Regions from separate parts of the Homo sapiens genome. Here region 2 is linked to region 1. Evidence: promoter capture Hi-C in 16 types of primary human blood cells and fetal thymus (Javierre and others, 2016). All regions are on one chromosome and are shown on one strand. The core of a region is centred on a gene start or on the middle of the fragment in contact, and the rest is flanking DNA. Distances in the headings are between cores, read along the strand shown. Region 1 holds the start of UPK1B (uroplakin 1B). Region 2 has its middle 69 kb from the start of IGSF11-AS1.

Region 1 (5,618 bases), core at 847-3,346:
TGATAGGAAGAAAATATCTAAGTGTTTCTAACAGAAGTGAGATATTAGTAATGAGAATTCACTGATGAGCTTGGAATCAGGTTAAGATGTGGGTAAGGGAGCCACCTAGCCAGAGAGAAAGGAAGATTAGCAGAAGAGAGTTAGAAATAAATTAACTGGAAAAAAATAAGCCTGTCATACATTAACGACTTGACGTTCCTCAACTATTCAGTTGCAGTTATTATCTGAAAACTAATCTTCCTTTTCCTAGCTAGTCTCTTGTCTCTTGTTATTGGGTTTGTGTTCACATTATCTATTTTGAAGATTTTCAAATCTTTTTGTTTTCTCCCCATATAATCATGGTAATGGAACATAAAATGCCTAAGACATGAATGAAAATTCACATGTCCTTGTTTGCTTCCTTGCTACTTTATCACAAATATTTCCAGGACAGCACATGTTTTTAATAACTTGTACGTTCTTATAATTATAATATAGATCCTTTGTAAACATATGAACTGCAAAAATAGAAGACTGTAAAAGTCACCCATATTTTACCATTCAGATATATTCTGGTTAATGTTTGCTGTATACTATTTCTAACTTTTTAAGTCATAGGTAAACTTTCTTAAAAATTAAAATGTGTCAGATTACACAAACTATTTTGTAAACCGCTTTTTCATTTTCAGCCTCTAGAAGAGTGCCTGGCACATCCTAAGTTTTCAATAAATATTTGTCAAATAAATGACTGAACTTATTTCCATACCATTAAATGTTTATCTGTGGTGTCATTTTTAACCATTGCACAGAATTCTATTGTGTGAAATATGATAATTTATCTAACAAGGCCCTGAAGAGCTGCAGAGGAATAAGGCCTTGTGATGGACACAGAGGTGCTCCATGCAGTCCCCCTTGAAGTGGGAGGTTGCCCTGCTGCTGGGAGTACTTGCAACCTCCAGCCTCCAGTTATCAGCCCCTTTCAGGACTTGCCTCAGCTACAGAAAGCTGCCTTCCCAGGGTAATCCACATTGAAGGGCAGATCATAGAGGAGCCCAGTGTCAGAGCTACTCTGACAGGCCATCTTCCTCCAGAGTTTCCTGAGGAGGGCTGCTTAAGACTGTCCCATCTATATTGCAGCTCAACTTCTTCCTCTGCCCAGTCCTGTTTCTCCCCTCTCCCTGCCATGGGTGTTAATCTCAGGGCACTGTCTAATAAATATATTGCACACTAAATTTTGTCTCAAAGTCTGCTCCTGAACAACCTAACCTGCAACAGAGATGATGCTGACCTTTGAGGAACTCCCAAGTCTATTGGTAAAAGCACTCAGTAAATTCTAACATTACTGCAGTTACCGATTCCTAACTCAGGTTAAACAAGCGATGGCGCATGTATACCATGATAGGTTATGCAGCCATTAAAATAATGTTCTGGGTGCCATGTATAACACATGATGGCTCCAGAAGTCAGGGAAGAAGGAAAAAAGAAGGGAAGGGAAGAGAAGAGAAAGGGAGGGAAGAAGAGGGGAGGGAAGAATTGGACATCAGATAATCACTTGAGCCCTCTCTCTCCGTGAATTTTTCCCAATCTGTTTCTTTCCACATCTCTTGCTCCTTATCAGTCTTTGGGCCACCTACAGTATGAGCATTACTTGGGCAATTACTGTCTCTCTGAATTTGGCATATGCAAATTATAGAAACTAAAACTGGACATGGCCCTACACAGGTAAGCACATATCAGCATCGCTGTGAGCGGTCAGGACTAACAAGCCTTCAACACACAAAAGCAGGAGTAAGGATCAAATTACACAAATCAAATCAAATCAAATCAAAATAAAATCCCTGAGTTTGTATTCCAGTAAAGCCCAAACCTAGGAGGGATCCAGGAAAGCGATGAGTGTGGCTGTCAAGGTGCTTCCATCTGTCAGAGTCACACATTCCAAAGCAGCAGAAATCAACTGACAGCCTCCGGTTACTCCCCCGCCTCAGCGAGGCAGGGCAGGCAGCGGAAAGCTCAGCCCATGTGAGGTGCCTCCTGCCAATCACAGACTACCCTTCCCTGGTCCTGGAGGTTCAAAGAATTGCAGGAGGGTAGAAAAGCACCTGGGTCGGGTGCAGACTGCGGAGCGGGCCCTACCGTGTGCGCAGAAAGAGGAGGCGCTGTGAGTAGACCGCTTTCCCTCTGCAGGGAATCTCCCGGGCTCAAGGGCTGGGTTGCTCTCCTGGGAGGGAAGCTAGCAGACTGGGAGGGAAAGGGGAAGAAGTTAGATTCTTGATTCATAAAGTCTGTCATTTTTTTCTTTGTAATTTAGGGTATTGTGACTGTCCTGTTCTCTTTTACTTTGAACCGTTGGAATTGCTTTCTTAATACCCTTGATATAAGTCTTGTTCTCATTAAACTTCTGGAGATATTACGCAGCCATCCTGCTTTCAACCTCAGATATCCCCACAGAAAGAACAAGAAAATCCAAGCACCCCGAGAAACCCTATATCTCCTGATTAAATCGCACATAGACAGTCACCTTTGTAGACCCCCAATTTCCTTGTGGAGTCAGAAAAGCAATAGAAAGTTTAACGAAATAGCTCGTGTTATTTCTTAATAATCTGTTCAGGCTAGCAGAGAGAAAGTTTCTTGGTCTTCTTGTCAGAAATCATTTGGTCCTGCCAACCTGTAATGAAATGTGTGAAGCAATTTACTCCCAGTTATTCTCTGCAAACACTTCTGCTTAATAAATGTGTCAGTTGAAGTAAGTCAACAAAGTAGCTTTATCTACGCAATGTTATTTTTACATAATTTGTTTTTACTCCTTACCAATTCTTTGCTCCACCATGATCTGCAGGACATAAAGATATTTTTCATTCTGATCACATTTTCACACAAAATACAAATTTAAGTTTCAAATAATGCTAGTATTATTTTATGTTTGCATTTGTTTATAAACCTAAAACTCCACTTCTAACTAGTTTTAAAGATTTTTAAGCCATTTAAGAATTCGTAGCCAGTCACAGTGGCACATGCCTGCAGTTCCAGCTATTCGGGAAGCTGAGGCCACGTGATCAGGAGTTCTAGTCCAGGCTGGGCAACATAGTGAGATCCTGTCTCTAAAAAAAATAAAAATAAATTTTTAAAGAAGTTTTGTTAACTTGAATGTCTTCTTTTAATGAAAGACAACGTTTCTTGAACATTTCTTGCCTGAGTTGCTAAGCACAACAGGAAAGAACTCATTAGGTTTTATAGATATACATACTTTGAGTATAAACAAAATTTAGGTTACATAGTTTTCAGACCCTATGAAGAAGTGGATTTTCTTTTTATTAACCTTCTCAGTGAGGAGAAAAATTTCTTACTTTGCTTTCTGCTCCAACAGATTGTTTTGCTTTCTGCTATAAAATAGTCTTTAAAATCAACTCACCTATTTTTTTTTTTTTTAACTGCTGGGAAGAATCATAGACTTTTACATCCAAAGGGGACCTTAGACATCATTTAATCAAGGGGAAAAAAAAGAAACTCAGAACTTTTTTTTTCTTTTATTTTCTTTTTTTTTTTTTTTTTTTTTTTTTTTTTTTTTTTGAGACGGAGTCACTCTGAGGCCCAGGCTGGAGTGCAGTGGCGTGATCTCTGCTCACTGCAAGCTCTGCCTCCCGGGTAGATGCCATTCTCCTGCCTCAGCCTCCCGAGTAGCTGGGACTACAGGTGTCTGCCACCACGCCCGGCCAATTTTTTGTATTTTTAGTAGAGACGGGGTTTCACCGTGTTAGCCAAGATGGTCTCAATCTCCTGACCTCGTGATCCATCCACCTCAGCCTCCCAAAGTGCTGAGATTACAGGCTTGAGCCACCGCACCCGGCCAAAACTCAGAACTTCTTTTTGACTTCTCCTGCTTACAATCTTAACCAGAGTAAACACCAGCCAGCCTTTAAATATGCTCTGGAATTTGTGCCTGATAGCCATGCAGGCTGCCCACAAACTTGATGGGCCACCATTCACCAACTGGGACAGAGACCACATTGGTGAGGGGGCACCATCATCACACACCGCCCTACCCGCCTGCCCACCCCCTCCCCCCCGCCCCAAGGACTCTCCATAGTACTCCTGCCCTGGAGCTGGGCATCTCTCTGGCAATGCCCACACCTGAGGCCCTCGTGCAACTGAGTGCTCCTGAGCCATTGCTTACAGCTAGTCCCTGATTTCCAATGGGTGGATGACTCCCATCATACTGGGAGCACCAGGAATCAAGAGCAGTGCTGTCCAGTAAAACTTTCTGTGATGAGGGAAATGTTCTAGATAATAGACACTAACCACATGTATCTAGGGAGTGCTTGAGATGTGGTTGGAGCAACTGAGGAACTGATTTTTACTTTTATTTAATTGAATTCTTTTGACTTTAAATAACTGCATGCAACTACTAACTACTGTATTAGTCAACACAGGTTTAGAGCTTTAAAGCAAGAAAAACTTATGGGCACTGTGAGCCATGGGTGACAGCCCTGGGAGAAACCTCCTCTTTTTGTTATTTCCAGGGACTTATCCTACCTTAAGTTGAAGCAGACCAGCAATTGTTGTGACCTACAATCTCCACACCCATCTTTACTCTGAGCCAAGGAAGTGTCTGTTCTTGTGCTGAGTTTCAGGGTGAGGGCTAAGGCAATCGCATATTGTGTTTCTTTGTTTCTTCCTCTCCTATTTTTCCTTTTCTTTTTTTCTCCTTTGTTAATTCAAATTTCTCTAGCATGAACTAAAGTTTGAGGTGTGGTTTGTGTGTTCTCTGGTACAACAAACTTGGGTGAGGAAAAGAGGTAATGAACTTGAAAAAATGATCTCATGCTTACTGGGCGAGTCTCACTTCTTTTTCTTCTGCTTTGCAAATTGGTTTGTTTAGTGAGCAATTGTTTTTAGACCTTTCAATGTGTCTGGAAACATCAACACTACGGGTATGATTAATTTTTATAGGAAAACAAACTGAGTGAAAGCACAATAAAGAAAAAACAAGAAATATAATTCTAGCTTTAAAAAAATCTGCACTCTTTAAAGCAAAGGAACTCCCAGGGTATTGAGCAATTTGAGTAAATCATCATCATACCAGGCCACAGGGCAGTTTTCCCACAGGGCGGGGTGCACAGGGGCTATTCCTTTACATGGAAAATATTTCGAGGTGAGTTGCGTACTTTCAGTCTGGGGCGTTCCATCTCTAACGCGGGCAGTTGCTGCTCTGCCCTCTGCCTTCCACCGCTTTCCACTTGTTAAATGTAACTCATCCCATTGGTTTCCTTCCCACCCCTGCCAGATAAGTAATCCAATATAGTCAGGGAGGCATTGTTTTAGAATAACGTGGGGAGGGTTCAGAAGACCACATATCTAAAACAGTTTCTACATACTGTGGGCTAAAAGAGAAGGCAGGAAAGAGGACACATCATATCATTAGAAGTCAGTATAGCCAGAGAGACAGACCCAAACCCCCAAATCATAAGTTACGAGGTTTGTCTTTTTAGGTTCTACCCTCTCCTTGGGTCTCTTTCCTTCTCATGGTGTCTTCCCTCGCCCTTTGAAAATTAAATAAGAGAAGGGAGCTGATAAATGAGGCATTGACATGGATGGCTCATGAAACTCAATGTGCCTCTTTTATATGAGCTTGCATTTTAATC
Region 2 (5,618 bases), core at 1,899-4,398, 300 kb before region 1:
TGGGCCTGTGGGTGCACAAAAGACAAGAGTTGAGGCTTGGAAGCCATCGCCTAGATTTCAGAGGATGTATGGAAATGCCTGGACGTCCAGGCAGAAGTCTGCTGCAGAGGCAGAGCCCTCATGGAGAACCTCTACTAGGACAGTGCAGAGAAGAAATGTGAGGTTGGAGACCCCACACAGAGACCCCACTGGGGCACTGCCTAGTGGAGCTGTGAGAAGAGAGCCACCATCCTATAGACCCCAGAATAGTAGATCCAGCGTTGAAGCCACAGGCACTCAATGCCAGCTAATGAAAGCAACCAAGGGGGCTATACCTTTCAGAGCCACGGAGGTAGAGCTGCCCAAGTCCTTGGGAGCCCACCCCTTGCATTAGTGTGCCCTGGATATAAGACATGAAGTCAAAGGAGATTATTTCGGAGCTTTAAGGTTTAATGACTGTCCTTCTGTGTTTTGGACTTGCATGGGGCCTGTAGCCCCTTTGTTTTGGCCAATTTCTCCCATTTGGAATGAGAGCATTTACCAAATCCCTGTACTTCCATTGTATCCTGGAAGCAACTAAATTGTTTTTGATTTTCAGGCTCATAGGCATAAGGGACTTGGCTTATCTCAGGTGAGACTTTGGACCTGAATTTTGGGTTAATGCTGGAATGAGTTAAGACTTTGTGGGACTATTGGGAAGCATAATTGGTTTTGAAATGTGAGAAGGACATGAGATTTGGGGGTGGGGATCAAGGGCAGAACGATATGGGTTAGCTCTGTGTTCCCACCCAAATCTCATGTCAAATTAGAATCCCCAGTGTTGGGGGAGGGGCCTGCTGGGAGGTGATTGGATCATGGGGCTGGATTTCCTCCTTGTTGTTCTCATGATAGTGGGTGAGTTCTCATGAGATCTGATGGTTTAAAAGTATGACACTTCCCCCCTTTCTCTCCTGCTCTGCCATAGGAAGATGTGCCTTGCTTCCCCTTCATCTTCCACCATGATTGTAAGTTTCCTGAAACCTCCCAGTCATGCTTTCTATACAGCCTGTGGAACTGTGAGTCAATTAAACCTCCTTTCTTCATAAATTACCCAGTCTCAGGTATTTCTTTAAAACAGTGTGAGAATTGACTAATAGCGTGTTTCCTTGGGATCAGATGATCAGGAACATAGGGAGTCATCAGACTTACTGAGAGAATGAAAAGAGGAAATGTTTCACCTATCTCCACATAAAGTGGAAGGAAGAGAATGTTTCACACATAGTAGATAGAAGGATAGACTGGGTGGGTGGCCTGCATGACCAATAACACATCAGATTAATTTGTTTTATAATCAGCAACTTCTAGTATATACTAATCAACTTTGATCACTAGAAGTGTTGATAAAAATAGTCTTGAGTTCAATTGAGTTCCAATATTCAGATTCACAAACTTTTTTCAGCATCTACTATGTGCCATGTGTGAGGCCTGGAAAAACACAAATAATTATGAAATAGTTACCACCTTCAAGAAGCAAATAATTACAAAATGGTTCCCATCTTCAAGGAGCATAGTCACAGGACAAAATTAATTTGAATATGATATGTATATCCTATGATAAGTATACATTATCTTATATAATCACAGAAGATTTATTTTCCTGTCTTGGGCAATCAAAAAAAGCTTCAGGAAAAGATATCTCCTAGGAAGAGATTTTTCTATTCTTCTGTGGTGGAGATTCCTATTTTCATCATATCCTTTCACCATGAAAGTTAGGTTTCTAAGATAAGCAACATAACTTTCCTGAAGTTTTGTCTCAGAGCTATTAAAATAGAGATGTTGAAAGAGTCAACAAAGCTGTAATGTGAATGTGAAGATCTACGGAAAACTGATGTTAGATTGTGAACTCCTGACATAAAATAATTTGGAGGATGACTACTAGACATCATTTCAAGCTGTGGTGACCTTATAAACTTATTGCCCAAATTAAGACACTCTGAGAGTAATTGAGGGACACTATTAATAATTCCTAGGCTACAAATATAAACTGAGACTAACCTGAGTGAGCTGGTAATAGGGTCACTCTAGTGTAAGGCCATATTTCCAGTCATCTGGGAAATAGTAAAGACTTCTAACAACATACTTTGTAATGACCACTGGTCTTCCATATCACATTGAGGTTAAACTGCTTGTGAGGGATTTTTGAATAATATTCTGAAACATAAGATTAATTTTTGGCCTTGAAATTAAGCAACTTTTAAATGTTAAGTGCTATTGTCTGAATGTTTTTCAGAATTCATATGTTGAAACTTAATCCCCATGGTGGTGTTGTTATGAGGTGGGGACTTTAGGAAGATGATTAGTCATTCCGGCTCTCCTCTCATAAACAGATTAGTGCCTTATAGAAGATCTGGAGGGAAGTGGCTTAGGGTCTTTTTGCCTTTTTGGCCCTGCAAATATGTGAGGACACAGCAAGAAGGCCCTCACCAGACACTGAATGCTGGTGCCTTTATCTTGAACTGCCCAGCCTCCAGAACTGTAAGAAATAAATTTCTATTGTTTATAAATTACCCAGTCTGTCGTATTTTGTTATTAGCAGCACAAATGGACTAAAACGATGAGACTAAGATCACATCTGAATGGACCATTACTTAGAACAGGATGTGACCAGAGAGGAGGGTCCAGGAGAGCACTCAGCACAGCCACAGGGGACAGGCACTGGGGAAACTGAATCAGCCACTAATGCCAACAAAGCTTCCTGATCTACAGCACTCCTAAATCTTAGCTCATGTAAATACTCACCAGTGGCTGAGAGAGAAAGAGGAGGAGGAGCACAGGTAAAATCGGAGGCTATCTCAATTGGTAGGCAGAGACAATTGAAAAAGAATACAGGATAGGTAAGACTCAACAAGTCAGGTCAGGAATCCAATATCTAGATGGTATTAAAGCCGAGCCACAGCCTTGAATTCTGCCTGGAGAGACCTAAATCACAAATTCAATTAGTGGTACTGTGGCACTGGGGGAATGCAATAGTCTTAAATACAATGTTGACTTTGCACACATTTTAAAATATGTATTTATAACAATGAGACATTTCAAATAATAGTGATAGTGGCTAGTGTGCATTGAATAATGTTTCAGTGACTGTTCTAAGTGCTTCACATCTTAAATGCTGTAAACTATTATCCTCATTTTGCACTTGAGAGACTGAAGTATTGAGATATGAGCTGTGAAGTCTTGGAGGACACGGGAAGCAATGCATTTACCATTGTTGCAATTTTGTCACTTAAAAGGTAGACTTGGACAGACAAGAAATACAGCTCTTTTAAGGCAATGCCATTTACTTAAGAAGCACATAATGAAGGATTTGAGATTATCCTAGAGAGTGTCTCAAAGGGTAATATTTTTTAAATTTTTCCAACAATAGTGAGAATTTCCTGTTCACTTACACAATGCTAAGTTTGGTGCATTATTATAAATGCCCACTTTAATTAATACAATAGTACAATGTAGTTCACCTAGAATTAATGGATGAGGTAGGAAGCAAACTTGCTCCTATTTCTCAAAGAGGTGTGGAGAGAGACAGAAGTTAGGGAAAACTTTCTAATAAAAAATCAGCTGTTGAAATCAAAGAAGCTTTAGCATGAACCAAATTGCTAAGAACCAATGGCAAATTAGAAGAGGTTAACTAGGTGCTGGGATCCTAAAAAGAGATCTACCATCCAGAAACTCAGACTGGAATTTGATAACCTTCTGAGAAACATCAGATTATTGTTAAAGCACGTTCCAATAAACTAGAGCTCCTATTTGGCTCAGGATGAATGTTTTTAATTTTGAATACTGCTCTGAATTGCTTATCATGAAAATGTTTAATAATGCAATGTGGCTACAATGTAGGAAGCATTGTAAAGAGAGGCAGAAGGTGAATAATTGGGTAAAACAATCTCAATTTAAAATGAGCAGGGCAGCTGGTTCATAAAAGAAATACTGTGCACATGAGTGGAAGAAAATAGCTGGTGAAAAACAAAGAGAATCAAAAATAGTGTAACACAGAGAAAATGAACTGCAGTTCCTTTCTCTTTTAAGTCCTAAATAGAAAGCCATGTGATGTAAGCAGTGGGTTTCTATATTACCCAGAATCCCAAACAACAACTAAAGATCTAAAGATGTGCTTTTGGCAGTAGAGTTGGAGAAAAGAATAGATTCCAGATGACTTAGATGATGCCCCTCACGGAGGCCCAGGAAATATTTGCCAAGGCGTCAGCTACATGGACAAGGTAAAAAACATCACAGTTGGCCACACAAGACATTTGGGCCTCTATATGAAATTTATGTTCGTTGTGTGCTGTTTCCAAGTAAAATTTCAAATTAACTATTTCTTTGATAAGAAATCGCCATAATTCTTAGAGTGCTGAAAGGGAGAAAATGAACCAACTATAGTCATGGACAATGAAATTAATTGCCTGAGAATTTCCTGTAAAAGAGCTCTGGATTAGGTCACAACACACTTATGTTAAATGCCGTATAAGACATTCTCCAAAAAATATCCTAAATGGGGCCTAGATCTCCTGGCACTGTCATATAAGGAGTTCTGATGGGACTAAATTGAACAAATAGAAAGTAATCGTTATCTGTTAGAAAGGTGTAGCCAGGTCTTTCTGTACCCTTTCCAAAAGAAAAACTGCATATCTTCCATGAGAGACAAAAGTATGTACCATCTGCAAATTCTTGCAAAGACCTGTATCACATAAAAATTACCCTTATTCTCTCCTTCGATATGTGGATTTCTATAAATAAATCGAGAGAAGCTAAGCCTTTGGTAAGCCAAAAAAGACAAAATAAAATTGTGACTGGATGTCACTATGAGCCCCCAGTTTCGGTCTAGAATAAATAAAAGGAATCTGTGTTTCTACGCCCCTTTTCTAGAACTGTTGCACATTTTCACCAGGCTGCCTGGTCGAGGAGAAAAGAAGTCTGGGAATGGGGATGCTATCTTTGTAAAGGCGTTGGAAAGAGGATCTCAGCACGGCAGTGAGAAACCACATTGGTTCTCTATGGGAATTAAGCAGATTAAGTGTACAAACCTATAATTCCAGGGAAGTAACAGCCTTGTTGCTGCAAAGGGTAGAAGCTTCAGAGTGGAAGTCACTATTAATTCCTATGTGGTTTGCCACAAAGGGTGTGCTGTCAGCAACAACAACCCCTAGAGCTGCTAGCTTGAATTCTCAGGCCATGCTCACATGAACTACAGAATACTACAGTGACTCTAGAGACTGGTGTCCTTACGTCTCTCATTCTATGCTATGAATAACTGATTCCTGCCTCAGCTCATGGTATTCCCAAACATAAGGACTAGACAAGGGCACAGCTGTAGCACAAGTTTTAGAGTGTAGGTCTGAGATTAGAGGGAAGTCAGGCCAGGAAAGAATCCCTCAAGTGTTGAGGGTCAACATAACAACAAGCTCAGAAGCAAATGTAACAAGCTGCCAAATCTCCAAGGTAAAAGGTGGTAGCTGAAATAGTTTAGAGAGATTCTGTAGGGAGAAAGACATATTTGAAGTGAAGTCCACAGATGAGGATTTCAGGATCTTGCAGGATACTGAAAGCAGGTTTTTTGTTTGTTCGGGTTCTATTTTTTTTTAAGCTACCATTGTATTAATGGT

Evidence for each region. The method cuts DNA at HindIII sites, captures the fragments that hold promoters and counts their contacts. A CHiCAGO score of 5 or more calls a contact.
Region 2: a fragment that was not itself captured here is called in contact with the fragment with the promoter of UPK1B in region 1 in 2 of 17 cell types (naive CD4 T cells and naive CD8 T cells); the score reaches 5.7 in naive CD4 T cells.

The regions. Positions count from the first base shown.
Region 1 is chr3:119,171,502-119,177,119 of GRCh38, forward strand. It overlaps UPK1B (uroplakin 1B), which reads left to right and starts at 2,097. Exons shown (of 8, transcript NM_006952.4): 1 at 2,097-2,137. The HindIII fragment of the contact is 9,656 bases long and covers 1-5,618 here.
Region 2 is chr3:118,871,390-118,877,007 of GRCh38, forward strand. No RefSeq gene overlaps it. Among named protein-coding and RNA genes, the nearest start is that of IGSF11-AS1, 69 kb to the right of the region's middle. The HindIII fragment of the contact is 882 bases long and covers 2,708-3,589 here.